Regions from separate parts of the Homo sapiens genome. Here region 1 is linked to region 2. Evidence: promoter capture Hi-C in 16 types of primary human blood cells and fetal thymus (Javierre and others, 2016). All regions are on one chromosome and are shown on one strand. Each heading gives the region's core, a stretch centred on a gene start or on the middle of the fragment in contact. The rest is flanking DNA. Distances are from core to core; before and after follow the strand shown. Region 1 holds the start of DCTPP1 (dCTP pyrophosphatase 1). Region 2 overlaps YPEL3-DT (YPEL3 divergent transcript).

What was found. Contacts are between HindIII fragments. The CHiCAGO score rates a contact against its expected background, and 5 or more counts as called.
Region 1: a contact is called between the fragment with the promoter of DCTPP1 here and a fragment that was not itself captured in region 2, in 4 of 17 cell types (naive CD8 T cells, erythroblasts, total CD4 T cells and 1 more). The highest score is 5.8, in naive CD8 T cells.

Annotation. Positions count from the first base shown.
Region 1 is chr16:30,424,761-30,432,082 of GRCh38, reverse strand. DCTPP1 (dCTP pyrophosphatase 1) reads left to right here and starts at 2,053. Exons shown (of 3, transcript NM_024096.2): 1 at 2,053-2,203; 2 at 2,916-3,026. The coding sequence starts at 2,103. RefSeq lists enhancers at 1,606-1,715, 2,116-2,195, 2,949-3,449, 3,450-3,950. The HindIII fragment of the contact is 11,131 bases long and covers 1-3,044 here.
Region 2 is chr16:30,098,276-30,105,476 of GRCh38, reverse strand. YPEL3-DT (YPEL3 divergent transcript) reads right to left here. Exons shown (of 2, transcript NR_135192.1): 2 at 21-2,020. GDPD3 (glycerophosphodiester phosphodiesterase domain containing 3) reads left to right here. Exons shown (of 10, transcript NM_024307.3): 10 at 468-667. The coding sequence ends at 605. Among named protein-coding and RNA genes, the nearest start is that of YPEL3-DT, 5.4 kb to the right of the region's middle. The HindIII fragment of the contact is 297 bases long and covers 1,999-2,295 here.

The sequences.
Region 1 (7,322 bases), core at 804-3,303, 330 kb before region 2:
AGTGCTAGGATTACAAGCATGAGCCACTACGCCCAGCCTTTCATAGTATTTAAAATACAGTTACATTTATTTTTTTCATATTTATCGCCATTTCAGGCAATACATCATAGGGTCTAATAACAGACTGTGAAGCCAAACTGCCTGGATTTGACGCCAGCTCTACCACTTTACTAGCTGTTAAGTTATTTAACCTCTCAGTTTCCTTATCTTTTTTTTTTTTTTTTTTTTTTTTTTTTTGAGACGGAGTCTCGCTCTTTCGCCCAGGCTGAAGCACAGTGGCGCGATCTCGGCTCACTGCAAGCTCCACCTCCCAGGTTCACACCATTCTCCTGCCTCAGCCTCCTGAGTAGCTGGGACTACAGGTGCCCGCCACCACACCCAGCTAATTTTTTGTATTTTTAGTACAGACGGGGTTTCACCGTGTTAGCCAGGATGGTCTCGATCTCCTGACCTCGTGATCCGCCCGCCTCGGCCTCCCAAAGTGCTGGCATTACAGGCGTGAGCCACCGCGCCCGGCCTCAGTTTCCTTATCTTTAAAATGGGGATGACAACAATATTACCTACCATATAGGGTTTTTGTGAGGATTAAATTAGTTGCTATGAGGATTAAATATGTAAAATGCTTAAAACAGCCACCCCAGTTCCAGTTCATTCCTGAGGTCCCACTGTATTCTGGAGACACTCTTGTATCCTTACAATAAATTCCTTGTGGCCGGTGGGGGTGGCTCGTGCCTGTAATCCCAGCACTTCGGGAGGCCAAGGCAGGAGGATTGCTAGAGCCCAATCCAGCAATCCTGGTTCAAGACCAGCTTAGGCAACATGGTGAAACCCTGTCTCTATAAAAAATTTAAAAAATAAAAATAATAGATTTCTTTTTCTTGCTAAAAGCAGTTTAAACTTGTTTCTGTTGCATGTATCCAATCTTAACTGCTGGATAATATCATTTGTATAAATATACTTCCATGTAGCCATTCTTCCGTTGATAGTCATTTTATTTTCAATTTTTTTCACTCTTAGAAACAAAACTGTAATGAACTTCTTGCATGTGTCTCTCTGCACATATTCATTAATTTCTCTAGGGCATATACCTAGAATTGCAATTGTCACAGCCTTGGGATTTTAATTTCCAAAATCTGACTCTGCCTCTTCCTGCGCTTTCTTACGCTTTCACTTCCAGCAAGCTGGAAGCCTCTTTAAACGTGGAAATCAGAGATAGTAGCCCTAATAAGGGTACAATAATAAATCATTCTTTGCAAGACTACACCTGTTCTAGGGTTTCATAAAGATCTCTGCTCCTCCCATGGCCAATAACTCAGTGGTTCTGATTTGAAAGCAGCAACCCTGTGACTCGCCACCTCGCGTATTCCCTGGTGTGAGTGGAGCCTGGAGTTCTCGTGTGTGGGGTGGAGGAGCCGTGCTGGGGACCCATGAGGCTGGAGAGGCCGGCACAGGCCAGACCATAAGGGGCCACGTGTTTCAGGGCAATGTACGTTGCGCTGGGGCCTACTGCCTCCCTTAGGACAGGGATGGGGCGACCTCCATCGTTTCAACCACAGGACACAGCGATGGCGGGGAGCTGAAGTCCTACTGCCGTCTGATCTTACTCCGCTCTTCCCCTTCAATCCCATCCAAATAGTGTGGGGGTTGGCCTCGAGGTTTCTCAACGTCCTTAAGCCCTGATTTAATACCTATGCATAGGGCCTTTCATTTATAGGGTTTTCCACCTGACGGGCCCTCTTCCGCTGCCGTTTCGCTTTGGCGCCCTCTGGCGCCCATAAACGAAGTGACGCGCCTGCGCTTCCCCCACCCTCTGCCCTTCGTCTCTTCCCCAGGTCGAATTGGTACCTCTACCTTTAGACACAGGGCCTAGCGGAAGAATTCCAGGGCCTAAGACTAGAAACGCGCGCTTGAAGCTCCCTCAGATTGGTCCAGTGAGGGAAGGGGAGGGCTGTAGCAAACTCCACAAAAGTCATTGGTCTCTTTCCTCAGGCTCCGCCCCGTGAGGCAATAGAGAACTCCCGTAATTGGTCGGAGCTCTGGAGGCGGGGCTTCGAGCGTGGCTCGTGGGTTTTCCGTGAAGTCGCGGTGCAGCGGTGGGCGGCATGTCTGTGGCCGGTGGGGAGATTCGTGGGGACACGGGGGGAGAGGACACTGCTGCTCCCGGCCGGTTCAGCTTCAGCCCGGAGCCCACGCTCGAGGACATGTAAGCAGGCCTGGCCCAGCTCGGGGTGGGGAAGTCGCCCCTTTCTCCCGCGTTTTGGGGAGGGTTCCTCCACGTGGTCGGGAAGCGGGCTGGCAGCGGGGCTCGGGTCCTGGCTCTGTGGGCTGTCCCTGGGTGAGCCTTCTTACCTCATCTGCAAAATGGGCGCAGCGGTGCACACCTGAGGCAAGGGAAATTGGGTGGTGCCTCCGAGTGGTAACTAGGAACGCCCTTCAGCCTAGCCCTGGGAAGATACCGGCACCAGATACCGCCTCTGCTCTCCAGGCGCCGGGGGTACGAGAGGGGCAAACGAAGTGCTGAGAGGTGGGAGACGTTATTTTTTGCTGGAGGAGGTCAAGAAAGGCTTCTTAGAGGAAGGGTCTGTGGAACTACCTTCTGTAAGAGAAATTGCATTTTGATGTGCGGCGATTCCAGGTGGAGGAAACTGCAGAAGTAGCAGCAGGAGATGGAATAATGAAGAGGGTTTTGTTAGTTTTGGCGAGATGTTAAGGGCAGTTCAGGGGCACGCCCATTTTATAGATGAGGGAACCAAGTTCCGGAAAGAGGAAATGACCTGCACAATACCATCCAATGAATTAGTTGCAGAATCTCCTGGTCCCAGGCCCCATTACATACTACGGGGGTAGCTGCCTCTGGCCCCTGCATCACCCTCTAACCCGGAGACTTGGACTTACACTCCTTTGTCCTATTTCAGCCGCCGCCTCCATGCTGAGTTTGCTGCGGAACGAGACTGGGAACAGTTCCATCAGCCTCGGAATCTCCTCCTGGCCTTGGTTGGGGAAGTGGGGGAGCTGGCAGAACTCTTGTGAGTAGATGGAAAGCTTCCTGGTAGAGTCTGAGTTGTGGGGGAGGGGAGGGGAGCATTTATTTGGTCTTCAAACATTCATGGGTTCAGTTTCCCCTCCTGATTGCTAGGCTCTTTGCTGTTGTTGGGATGCAGAGAGGACTCACGGGTCCCTGCCCTCTAGGGGCACTCAGCCTCCTGGAAGAGAGAGGTGTGAGGTGTGAAAGCATCAGGACAGGTCCCGTCTAGGAAGAAGCAGTGGCAACAACCCTTTTCCCTTCTTTTGTTTTTTGTTTTTTTGGCTTTTTTTTGAGACGGGGTCTCGCTCTGTCGCCCAGGCTGGAGTGCAGTGGCTCAATTTCGGCTCACTGCAACATCCGCCTCCTGGGTTTAAGCAGTTCTGTCTCAGCCCCCCGAGTAGCTGGGACTACAGGTGCCCCCCACCACGCCTGGCTAATTTTTGTATTTTTAGTGGAGACGGGGTTTCACCATATTGGTCAGGCTAGTCTCAAATTCCTGACCTCAGGTGATCCACCCGCCTTGGCCTCCCAAAGTGCTGGGATTACAGGGGTGAGCCACCACGCCTGGCCCAACAACCCTTTTCCTCTGCCTCTGGGGCTGAAAGGAAGGTATTCTGTAGAGGACCTGCCTGTGGCATTCCAGACATGGGAACTACATTTGCAGGGGCAGTGAGGCAAGAAAGGGCAAGTTCAATTCAGGGAGAATCTGACGCTCCTTCATTGTAAGCATCTCAGGAAAAATCAGGGATTTGGGATCTGTTTTCTCTGATGTGTCCCAAGTGCCCAGCGCATAGTAGGCGCTCAATAGGCACACGTTGGATGAGTGATAGGGCTGTGGAGGAGAGGGGTGGGAGTTGAACCCACAAAGATATGATTAGGGCTAGAGTATGATGGAGAGTTTGGACAGAAGACCTGACCAGATATGAGTGTTGGAAAGGTCACTGTGTCTACAGGGTGGATTGGATGGATCACTGAGAGAATGGGGCAGGGGACACCAGAGAGTTGGCTGGTGTAGACCAGGCAAGAGGCGATGAGCCCTAGACCAGGACAGTCATTTTTTTAAGAGAAAAGGTCTCACTCTGTTGCTGAGGCTGGAGTGTACTGGTGTGATCATAGCTCACTGAAGCCTCAGGAGCTCAAACGATCCTCCCACCTCAGCCTTCGGAGTAGCTGGGTCTACAGGCGTGCGCCACCACCAAGCCTGGCTAATTTATTTTTACTTTTTGTAGAGATGGGATCTCTCGCTGTTGTTGCCCAGGCTGGTCTCAAACTCCTGGTCTCAAGTGATTCACTTGCCTCACCATCCCGCAGCACTGGGGTTACAGGTTGAACCACTGCACATGGCCTCATGACAGATTTATGAACATCACCTATGTGCTAGGTCTTCTAGAATTGAGATATGGCCTGGAACAAGGCAGAAAGGTTTCCACCTTCACAGTGGAAGGAGATTGACAGTAAATCAGTAATCTCATATTAGAAGATCTGGAATTATGACAAGTTCTATGAGGAAAAGAACACAAGGTGATGACCCAGTCTGGCCAACATGGTGAAACCCTGTCTCTACTAAAAATACAAAAATTAGCCAGGCATGGTGGCGGGCGCCTGTAATCCCAGCTACTCAGGAGGCTGAGGCACAAGAATCGCTTGAACCCAGGAGGCAGAGACTGCAGTTAGCCAAGATCACACCATGGCACTCCAGCCTGGGCGACAGAGCAAGACTCTGCCTTAAAAAAAAAAAACAAAAAAGGGGCTGGGCGGGGTGGCTCACACCTGTAATCCCAGCACTTTGGGAGGCTGAGACGGGCAGATCATGAGGTTAGGAGATCAAGACCATCCTGGCTAACACGGTGAAACCCCGTCTCTACTAAAAATACAAAAAAATTAGCCGGGCGTGGTGGCGGGCGCCTGTAGTCCCAGCTACGCAGGAGGCTGAGGCAGGAGAATGGCGTGAACCCAGGAGGCGGAGCTTGCAGTGAGCCGAGATCGCGCCACTGCACTCTAGCCTGGGCGACAGAGCAAGGCTCCGTCTCAAAAAAAAAAAAAACCCAACGAAAAAGGTCCAGGTGCGGTGGCTCACACCTGTAATCCCAGCACTTTGGGAGGCCGAGGCAGGCAGATCACCTGAGGTCAGGAGTTCAAGACCAGCCTGGCCAACATGGTGAAACCCTGTCTCTACTAAAAAATACAACCATTAGCTGGGCATGGTGGCACACCCCTGTAGTCCCAGCTACTCGTGAGGCTGAGGCAGGAGAATTGCTTGAACCCTGGAGGCAGAGGTTGCAGTAAGCCAAGATTGTGCCACTGCATTCCAGCCAGGGCGACAGAGCAAGACTCCGTCTCAAAAAACAAAACAAAACAAAACAAAAAAGACCAGCCTGGCCAACAGGCTGAAACCCTGTCTCTACTAAAAATACAAAAATTAGCCGGGTGTGGTCACAGGCGCCTATAATCACAGCTACTCAGGAGGCTGAGGCAGGAGAATCGCTTGAATCCGGGAGGCAGAGCTGGCAGTGAGCCAAGATCACGCCATTGCACTCCAGCTTAGGCAACAGCAAGACTCTGTCTCAAAAAAAAAAAAAAACCGGCCAGGTGCTGTGGCTCACACCTGTAATCCCAGCATTTTGGGAGACCAAGGCAGGCGGATCATGAGGTCAGGAGATCGAGACCATCCTGGCTGACACGGTGAAACCCCATCTCTACTAAAAATACAAAAAATTAGCTGGGTGTGGTGGCAGGCGCCTGTAGTCGCAGCTACTCAGGAGGCTGAGGCAGGAGAATGGCGTGAACCTGGGAGGCGGAGCTTGCAGTGAGCCAAGATCGTGCCACTGCACTCCAGCCTGGGCGACAGAGCAAGACTCTGTCAAAAACAAAAACGAACAAACAAAAAACACACAAGGTGACGAGCCAGGAGGTGACATCTAGGCTGAGCCCTGAATAACAGGAAGGAGCTAGCCCTGGGAATGATGGGGGATGGGGAAGCATTCAAGGCAGAGGGAGCAGTGAATGCAAAAGGCCTGTGACAGTCTGGCCTGTGTGCAAGGCAGAACAAGCCAAAGTGGCCTTAGGCGGGGAGTGAGAGTGGGGGGCAGTGGCATTGGAAAAGGCAGGCGTCAGCCCATGCAGGACAGGAGGGCTTTGTCAAGAGTTTAGATTGTATTCCAAGCACAGTTTGTATTTTAGCAGAGAAGGGGAAAAATACAATTTGTGGGGTCTCGTTTTGTTTTGTTTTGTTTAGTTTTTGAGACGGAGTTCTGCTCCTGTTACCAAGGCTGGAGTGTGATGGCGTCATGGCGGGTCACTGCAACCTCCGCCTCCCGGGTTCAAGCGATTCTTCTGCCCTCCTGCCTCAGCCTCCCAAGTAGCTGAGATTACAGGCATGCGCCACTATGCCTAACTAATTCGTATTTTCTGTAGAGATGGGGTTTCACCTTGTTGGCCAGGCTGGTCTCGGACTCCTGACCTCAGGTGATCTACCCACTTCACCCTCCCAAAGTGCTGGGATTACAGGCATGAGCCATGGCACCCAGCCAATTTTTTTTGTTTCATTTTGTTTTGTTTTGTTGTTTTTTTGAGACGGAGTCTTGCTCTGTTTCCCAGGCTGGAATGCTGTGGTGCGATCTCGGCTCACTGCAACCTCTGCCTCCTGGGTTCAAGAATTTCTCTGCCTCAGCCTCCTGAGTACCTGGGATTATAGGTGCCCACCACCATGCCCAGCTAATTTTTTTGTATATTTAGTAGAGACGGGGTTTCACCATCTTGGCCAGGCTGGTCTTGAACTCCTGACCTCATGATCCACCCGCTTCAGCCTCCCCAAGTGCTGGGATTATAGGCGTGAGCCACTGCGCCAAGCCTGATTTGTGCTTTTAAAAGATGGTGTGGGCCGGGTGCGGTGGCTCATGCCTGTAATCCCAGCACTTTGAGAGGCCGAGGAGGGCGGCTCACCTGAGGTCAGGAGTTCGAGACCAGCCTGGCCAATATGGCAAAACCCTGTCTCTACTAGAAAAACAAAATTAGCCGGGCATGGCGGCACATGCCTGTAATCCCAGCAACTCGGAAGACGGAGGCAGGAGAATCGCTTGAACCCGGGAGGCGGAGGTTGCAGTATCGCCCCATTGCACTCCACTCCAGCCTGGGCGACAGAGCGAGACTCCGTCTCAAAAAATAGAAAAGATGGTCTGGGCAGGAGTAGAAGATGAGCTAGCCAGGAGATGAGTGGGGAGGCTTCTGCAGTGGTCCAGGTCCGAGGTTTGGTCTGTGGTGGTGACGGCTAGGGCTGGAGAGAATTAGAATTGGGCCT
Region 2 (7,201 bases), core at 898-3,397:
ATAATTTTTTTTTTTTTTTTGAGACGAGGTCTTGTTGTATCGCCCAGGCTGGAGTACAGTGGTGCAACCATAGCTCACTGCAGCCTTAGAGTCCTGGGCTCAAGCAATTCTTTCACCTCAGTCTTCCAAGTAGCTGGGAGCACAGGCGCATACCACCACACCGGGCTAATTAATTTTTACAAAGTTTTTTGTAGAGATGAGGTCTCACTCGATCTTAAACACCTGGCCTCAACTCCTGCCTCGGCGTCCCAAAGTGTTGATATTACAGGCGTGAGCCACTGCACCCAGGCTATGATTTAATTTTTAATAATGGCTGGGTTTAATAACCACTTTGCAAAATTCCTGAGAATTTAACAATCAGCTCCAGCCTACTGCTGCTGGGGAGTCTCCATAGAGGAGGAGGTGGGTCCCCACTCTCCAGATGTAAAATTGTTCAGAATCTACAGGCCCCCTCCCTCCCTGCTCAGGTGGTCTTTTGGTGCCTTAATGAAGAGTCGGATTTTGAAGCAGCCTTCAGCGTGGGAGCCACTGGCGTCATAACGGATTATCCCACAGCCCTGCGGCACTACCTGGACAACCATGGACCAGCTGCCCGGACCTCCTAAGTCCAGAAGCCTCGAGGTCTCCTGTTTCTCTTCCTGAAAAATAAATATTTGCCTTTCGATCACATCGTTGTGCTGAGGGTGAGGAGTAGAGGGGTGGGTCCTGAAGATATGAAGATGGCAGCTTAGGAGGGAACAGGCCAGCCCTGAGGCTGGAGCCTGGGGCCCTCAGGAGCCTGACCCACTGGTTCCACTGCATTCCTGTCCTCCTGCCACACCCCACCCCAGCCTGGCCTCCACTCTCCTCAGCAATGTCCTCTCACGGCCAACCCAGGCATCCTGGCCCCCAGCCACTTGACAGCAACAGGTAATGGTTCCATTTTCCTGAGGCCATCAACAGCCCAGGCACCGGGCAGGGAACTTGATCTCTTCCATGTCTTGCCCTGTGAGCTTCCTTCTCGGGCTGCAGAGGATGGGCCTGGGTGGGACAGCTGAGTTCACCCAGCCCCTCTGCTGCCCCCGCCATTCCAACCTTCTCCTCCCAGGTCTCCTTCTCCAGAAGCTCCCAGAATGCTTCTGCCATCTTCAGCCCCAGGGCCATATTCACTGAAGGAACTACACATTCACATTTCACAGATACTTCCTGAGCGCCTCCTCTAGACCAGGCTGGGCCCACTGCAGTGAGCAACACAAGCCAAAGAACTGCAGACACGTGTTGAAACAGACATTCCCTGAGATCAGACCTAACCCAGCCTGGAGCACAGGGGTGTTGGAAACAAGTGCTCAGTGTAGTCAAGAAAAACCAGCACTGAGACAGATTTCCCAGCAAGGCATCTTTACTTCAGAACGGTGCTACTTGCGCAGCTTGTAATCGCAAGAGCACCCCAAACAAAGGAGAGAAGGGCTTTTTAACCCTAACGCAGTTCCTGTTTCTGTGTCCTTTCCCCATTGACTGGGGATGGACTGCACAATCTGAGCTGATCCCGACTGGCTAAGGTTTAAACTTTCCCAAACAGGGTAGACTGGCGAAAAAGAAGAAAAACGGGGAGAAGTTTATGACCAGGAAGTTGAGTCTTTGAAGAGCTTAGCTGTCCCAACAATTTCCTCTCTTCTATTTGATACTTCTTCCTCTGCAAAAAATTTTAACAGGATTTGGCTTCGTTGTTCTTCTTGATTATCCAGGAGCAAGAGCTTGTCCAAGTATGGAGGGAGAGAAGAGAGGAAGGCTTTAGTGAGGGCTGTTTCTATGAGCCTTTGAGTTAACCCACGAATACAAGGTATGATGCGGCAGCCCACAAGGATAAGTACACTTGTTACAATTGCAAGAGAGGTAAAGATTGAAGCCAGGAGTCCTTTCCATTTTCCAAACCACTTTTCCATGAGACCCATAAAAGGGTTATCTAGTCCAGAATTTTCGGCTAATTCATTTGCCAGGGTGGTAAGGCCTTGTAAAGCTTTTGTGATGGTCCCGTCGGCGGCTGTATTATTAGGGATAAAAGTACAACATTGGACTCAGATCATGACACAGACTCTGCCTTTTCCTGCCAATATCATGTCAAGGGCTAGTCTATTTTCCCAGGTCATCTGGCTGGTGGGGCCTAATTGTTCAGCTATTCCTTTGATGGCATCCCTGGTATAACTGACGAATCGCTGCTCGCTGTAGTATATATAATTTATCCAGTCTACATTTTTATTTATAGCAGACCACCAGAACAAAACAGACTTAAACCCAGCGGCTATTTGATTCCAAGCTTTAAATTCACTTGGTAGCTCCCGTGGGACCCTGCTACTGTCTATGTAAACATGGGGGTCAAAGGCCCACGAGGGGCTTCTCTTTTTCTTTGGGTTACTTGCTTCCTGTCTGGTTGATGAAATGCCAAGGTGAAAGGGATGGCCAACTGGATTAGAGCAAAAGTGCTGCTCCAATTGCTTGGCAGCGTACCCAGTAACAGTCCACAATACCACCATACATCTGCTCGGGGATAGACAAGGGCTGACTGATTGGTTAGCTCTTGAAAAGGTTTAGACTCCCATTAGATTTCCAAGGAACGTCAATTTGTCCTGTTGTGGGAGACACAAGGTGTAACTGGCATTGAGAGGTGGAAGTCAAATGGTCCTTGGGAGCTGACCCGTAGGGCTCCTGATCTTTGGGAAACGTAGTGAAAGAGTGGCGCACGTCTTGTTTCCCCAGGCTGTGGTGTGCTGGAAGAGAGCTACCATACAGTCCATGCCTGGTTGGTTGGCCCATCTGAGTGGAAAGGGGACAATCTGGGTTTCCGGCCTGCCCGCTGCACAAGAGTAACAATCGCTTTTATTCAGGGTGCGAAAAGAATATTTAATCCATTCCAGCCAGGCATTTGCATCTTGATACCCGGTCTCAATGGCTAGGGTTTGCTTTAAGTCCTTGACTTCTACTATAGCTACTTTGGTTTTGTCATTGGGTAAGAGGTGAGGAATGGTTTGATTTGGTGGGCTTGGGGAGGGGGAGACGGTAGGAGGTGGAGAAGGGTGAACAAAACATATTTCAAAGAAGCCTATAGGGTCCCTTCCAGTAACATCGGCTCCTAAGCCATAGAAGCAACCTAGAGTGGAGTTAGGGTCGGTGGAGGTAGGGGTAGTAATAGAGGTAAGTACTGGGTTGCACTGGTTGGATTGGCAATTATAGGGGTGGTTCCCTTGATAAAGTAAAGGCTGCTTCCTTCGGGTTTTATTAGTTTTTTTGCACACTAGGCAACTATCCGCCACCTGACTAGCGAGGGTAGAGATTCCTATATACCCATAGGCTTTGAGGACTGTGTCACACATAGCTTGGGGACCCCAGTGAGTTTCTTGATAAAGCTGTGATAATATTTCCCTCATAAGAGGTTTAGACAGCATTTCCCTCCCGTCTGGTAATACCCACCTTCCCTCTGAGCTTTCCTTAGCTCCTATTCTTTTTAACTTTTCTTGGTCCGCGTCGGAGAAGATGGGGATTGCGACTGGAGGGGAAGGCAAGGGGTCAGATGGAAAATGGGTGCCTCTCAGGAAGAGGCAACTTGCTTGGCTACTTGATCTGTGAGGTTATTTCCCCGGTTTTCAAAAGATGGGTTTTTCTGGTGTCCTGGGACGTGGACCACCACTATTTCTTCTGGCAGTTGAAGATTTTCTAGTACTTGCATAATCAATTCTTTATAGACAAGGTCCTGGCCCTTACTATTAATGAGGCCTCGTTCAGTCCAGATCTTTCCAAAGGTATGGACTACTCCAAAATACTTGGAGTCAGTGTAAATAGTTCCTTCCTGATTTTGCAGAGATTTTAAGGCCTGATTTAATGCAAAGAGTTCACATGTTTGAGTGAACCAGTTATTGGGCCGTCTCCCTGACTCTACCTCCATGAGGGTTTCCCTGTCAACTACAGAGCACCCGTTATGCCTCCTTCCTTCAATTACCCGAGAGGAGCCGTCTATAAAGAGGTAATGCCCAGTTTGGAACAGGGTCTTGCTTAGATGCAGTCTGACTCTAGTCTGATAACTGATCAGATCTAAACATTTATGCTCAGGTTCCTCCCGGTTCGGATTTCCTGTTAGGAAAACATCGGAGTTGAGCGAACTACCAGTGGTCAATGTTAAATCATCCCTCTCTAATAAGATAGCCTCAATTTTTTTGGGGGGTGGGTGGAGGATGGAGTCTCGTTCTGTTGCCCAGGCTGAAGTGCAGTGGCTGATCTCGGCTCAGTGCAACCTCCGCCTCCGGGGTTCAAGCAATTCTCCTGCGTCAGCCTCCCAAGTAGCTGGGATTACAGGCGTGCGCCACCATGCCTGGCTAATTTTTTGTATTTTTAGTAGAGAGGGGGTTTCACCATGCTGGGCACTCTGGTCTCAAACTCCTGACCTTGTGATCTGCCCACCTCAGCCTCCCAAAGTGCTGGAATTACAGGCGTGAGCCACCACACCCACCCGATAGCCTCACATTTTAAAATCCTTGAGTCAGTGAGCTATCTTCCTGCCTTCTGATTAAGAATGGTTCTAACGTGATGAAGGGTACATACAATGAGGCTTCCCCCAAAGGTTATTTTCCTGCTTCGTTCCATTAGCAAAGCAGTTGCTGCTACAGACTGGGCACATTCGGGCCATCGGTGGGTTACTGGGTCAAGAACTTTTGACAGGAAGGCTATGGGCTGCCAGTGGCCTCTGTGTCTTTGGGTGAGTACCCCTAAAGCCAACCCCTTGTTTACACTGATGAAAAGGTGGAATGGCTAAGGAGGGCAAAGCTATAACGGGGGCAGTTACAAGTAGGTGTTTTAACTCTTCTACTTGTTGGACTTCTGATAGGGTCCAAAGAAGGGGGTCTGGTCCTTCTTGGGTGAGTTTTTTATGTAGAGATTTTGTTTTTCAGGCATAAGAGTCAATCCATAGACGACAGTATCCAACTAATCCCAAGAATTTTCTAAGTTCCTGCTTTGTTTCAGGCAAAGGTAGAGATGTGACACCTTCAATTCGTTCAGGTACTATTTTCCGTTTGCCTTTACTGATTAGGTGTCCTAGATATTTTACCTCAGGTTCTACAAACTGAATTTTACTCCTTGAGACCCGTAACCCTTGTTCCCTTAGGAAATTCAGGAAGTTAATTGAAACTGTGGTTATGTGGTCCTTGCTATTTCCTGAAATGAACAGGTCATCTGCCTATTCGAGTAGGCATATGGATGAAGGAAGGGAAAAGTTTTCTAGGACTTGTTCTAAAATTTGACCGAATAGATTTGGGGAGTCTGTAAACCCCTGGGGTAGGACTGTCCACTGGTACTGCTGTTTTCGACCTAAGTGAGGGTCCTCCCACTCAAAAGCAAACATGTCCCGGCTGTCTTCCGCTAAAGGGCAAGCCCAAAAGCCATCTTTCTTTTTTTATTTTTTATTTTATTTATTTTTTGAGACAGAGCCTGGCTCTGTTGCCAGGCTGGAGTGCAGTGGCACGATCTCGGCTAACTGCAACCTCAGCCTCCTGGGTTCAAGCAACTCTCCTGCCTCAGCCTCCTGAGTAGCTGGGATTATAGGCACATGCTGCCATGCCTGGCGTGTGTGTGTGTGTGTGTGTGTGTGTGTGTGTGTGTGTGTGTATTTTAGTAGAGACGGGGTTTCACCGTGTTGCCCAGGCTGGTTGCAAACTCCTGAGTTCGGGCAGTCTGCCCGCCTCAGCCTCCCAAAGTGCTAGGATTACAGGTGTGAGCCACCGTGCCCAGCTGGCATCTTTCAAATCTATCATTGTGAACCACTGGTGATCATATGGGATTTTGCTGATAATAGTGTAAGGGTTGGGAACAACAGGGTGGGTAGTTTGAGCTGTTTGATTAACAGCCCAGAGGTCTTCTACTAGCCGGTATGACCCATCTGACTTTCTTACAGGCAATATTGGAGTGTTATAAGGGGACATACAGGGTTCAAGGGGTCCGTCATGGACGAGGCCCTCAATTATAGGTTTTAGAGCCATTCTAGCTTCTAAGGGAATAGGGTATCGTTTTCTCCTGACCACTTCCCTGGGAATTTTTTTTTAATAAATAAATCAATAAATCAATAAATAAATCTGACGGTGGAACCCAAATCAGAGTTAATCACTTTCTTTCTTTTTTTTTTTTTTTTTTGAGACGGAGTCTTGCTCTGTCTCTCAGGCTGGAGTGCAATGGCGTGATCTCAGCTCACTGCAAGCTCCACCTGCCAGGTTCACACCATTTTCCTGCCTAAGCCTCCTGAGCAGCTGGCACTACAGGCGCCCGCCACCACGCCCGGCTAATTTTTTGTATTTTTTTAGTAGAAACAGGATTTCACCGTGTTAGCCAGGATGGTCTCGATCTCCTGACCTCATGATCCACCCACCTCGGCCTCCCAAAGTGCTGGGATTACAGGCTTGAGCCACCATGCCCGGCCTTTGAGCCTCTCTTAATTAAAAGTTCCTCTATGGAGCAGTCTTGCCAATTTTCTATCTTTTGTAATTTCTTTCTAATGTCCGGCCGACTGTTGGTGATAAAATAGAGCTTTAACATCCCTTGTCCAAGTGGGTCCTCTATGTCTAAGCCTGAATATTTTCTTATTTGCTCCTTAAGTGTCTTTAAAAATTCCATGGGCCCTTCATCTTTTTCTTGGTGTACATTAAATGCTCGAGAAATATTTTGGGTTTGAGGCACCAATTCCTGAATCCCTTTAATTATCATATCCCTGAGGTCTTTCATGTTTTCTCAGTGGGCTGCATTGTTCCTATTCCACTGAGGGTCCTGGGCTGGGAATTTCTGCTCTGCTGCAGGGATGTTTTGACCAAGAGGGTGTTCACATTCCCAGACTATCATAGCAGCCCTGCGGATCATGGTTCTTTCCTCCCCTGAGAAGAGAATACCTAAGATGGACATTAATTCAGCCCAAGTATACAATTGCGGCCCTAAAAATTGTTCAATTTGATCTGTGACTCCAAAAGGATCATCTGATAATGGTTTGAGTTCCTTTTTCAGATTTCTAACCTCTGAACTAGTTAAGGGGGCATTTACGAAACCAATACCCCCTCCTCCCAGTGGTACTTAAGGGAAAAGGGGTTGGGGCAGACCCCTTTGAGGAAGAGGGAAAAGGAAAGTTCTGAATATCCCTCCGGCATTGTTCCATCTCGTGCTGGAGTTTTCCTGAGGAAAGGACATGTTCGGGTGG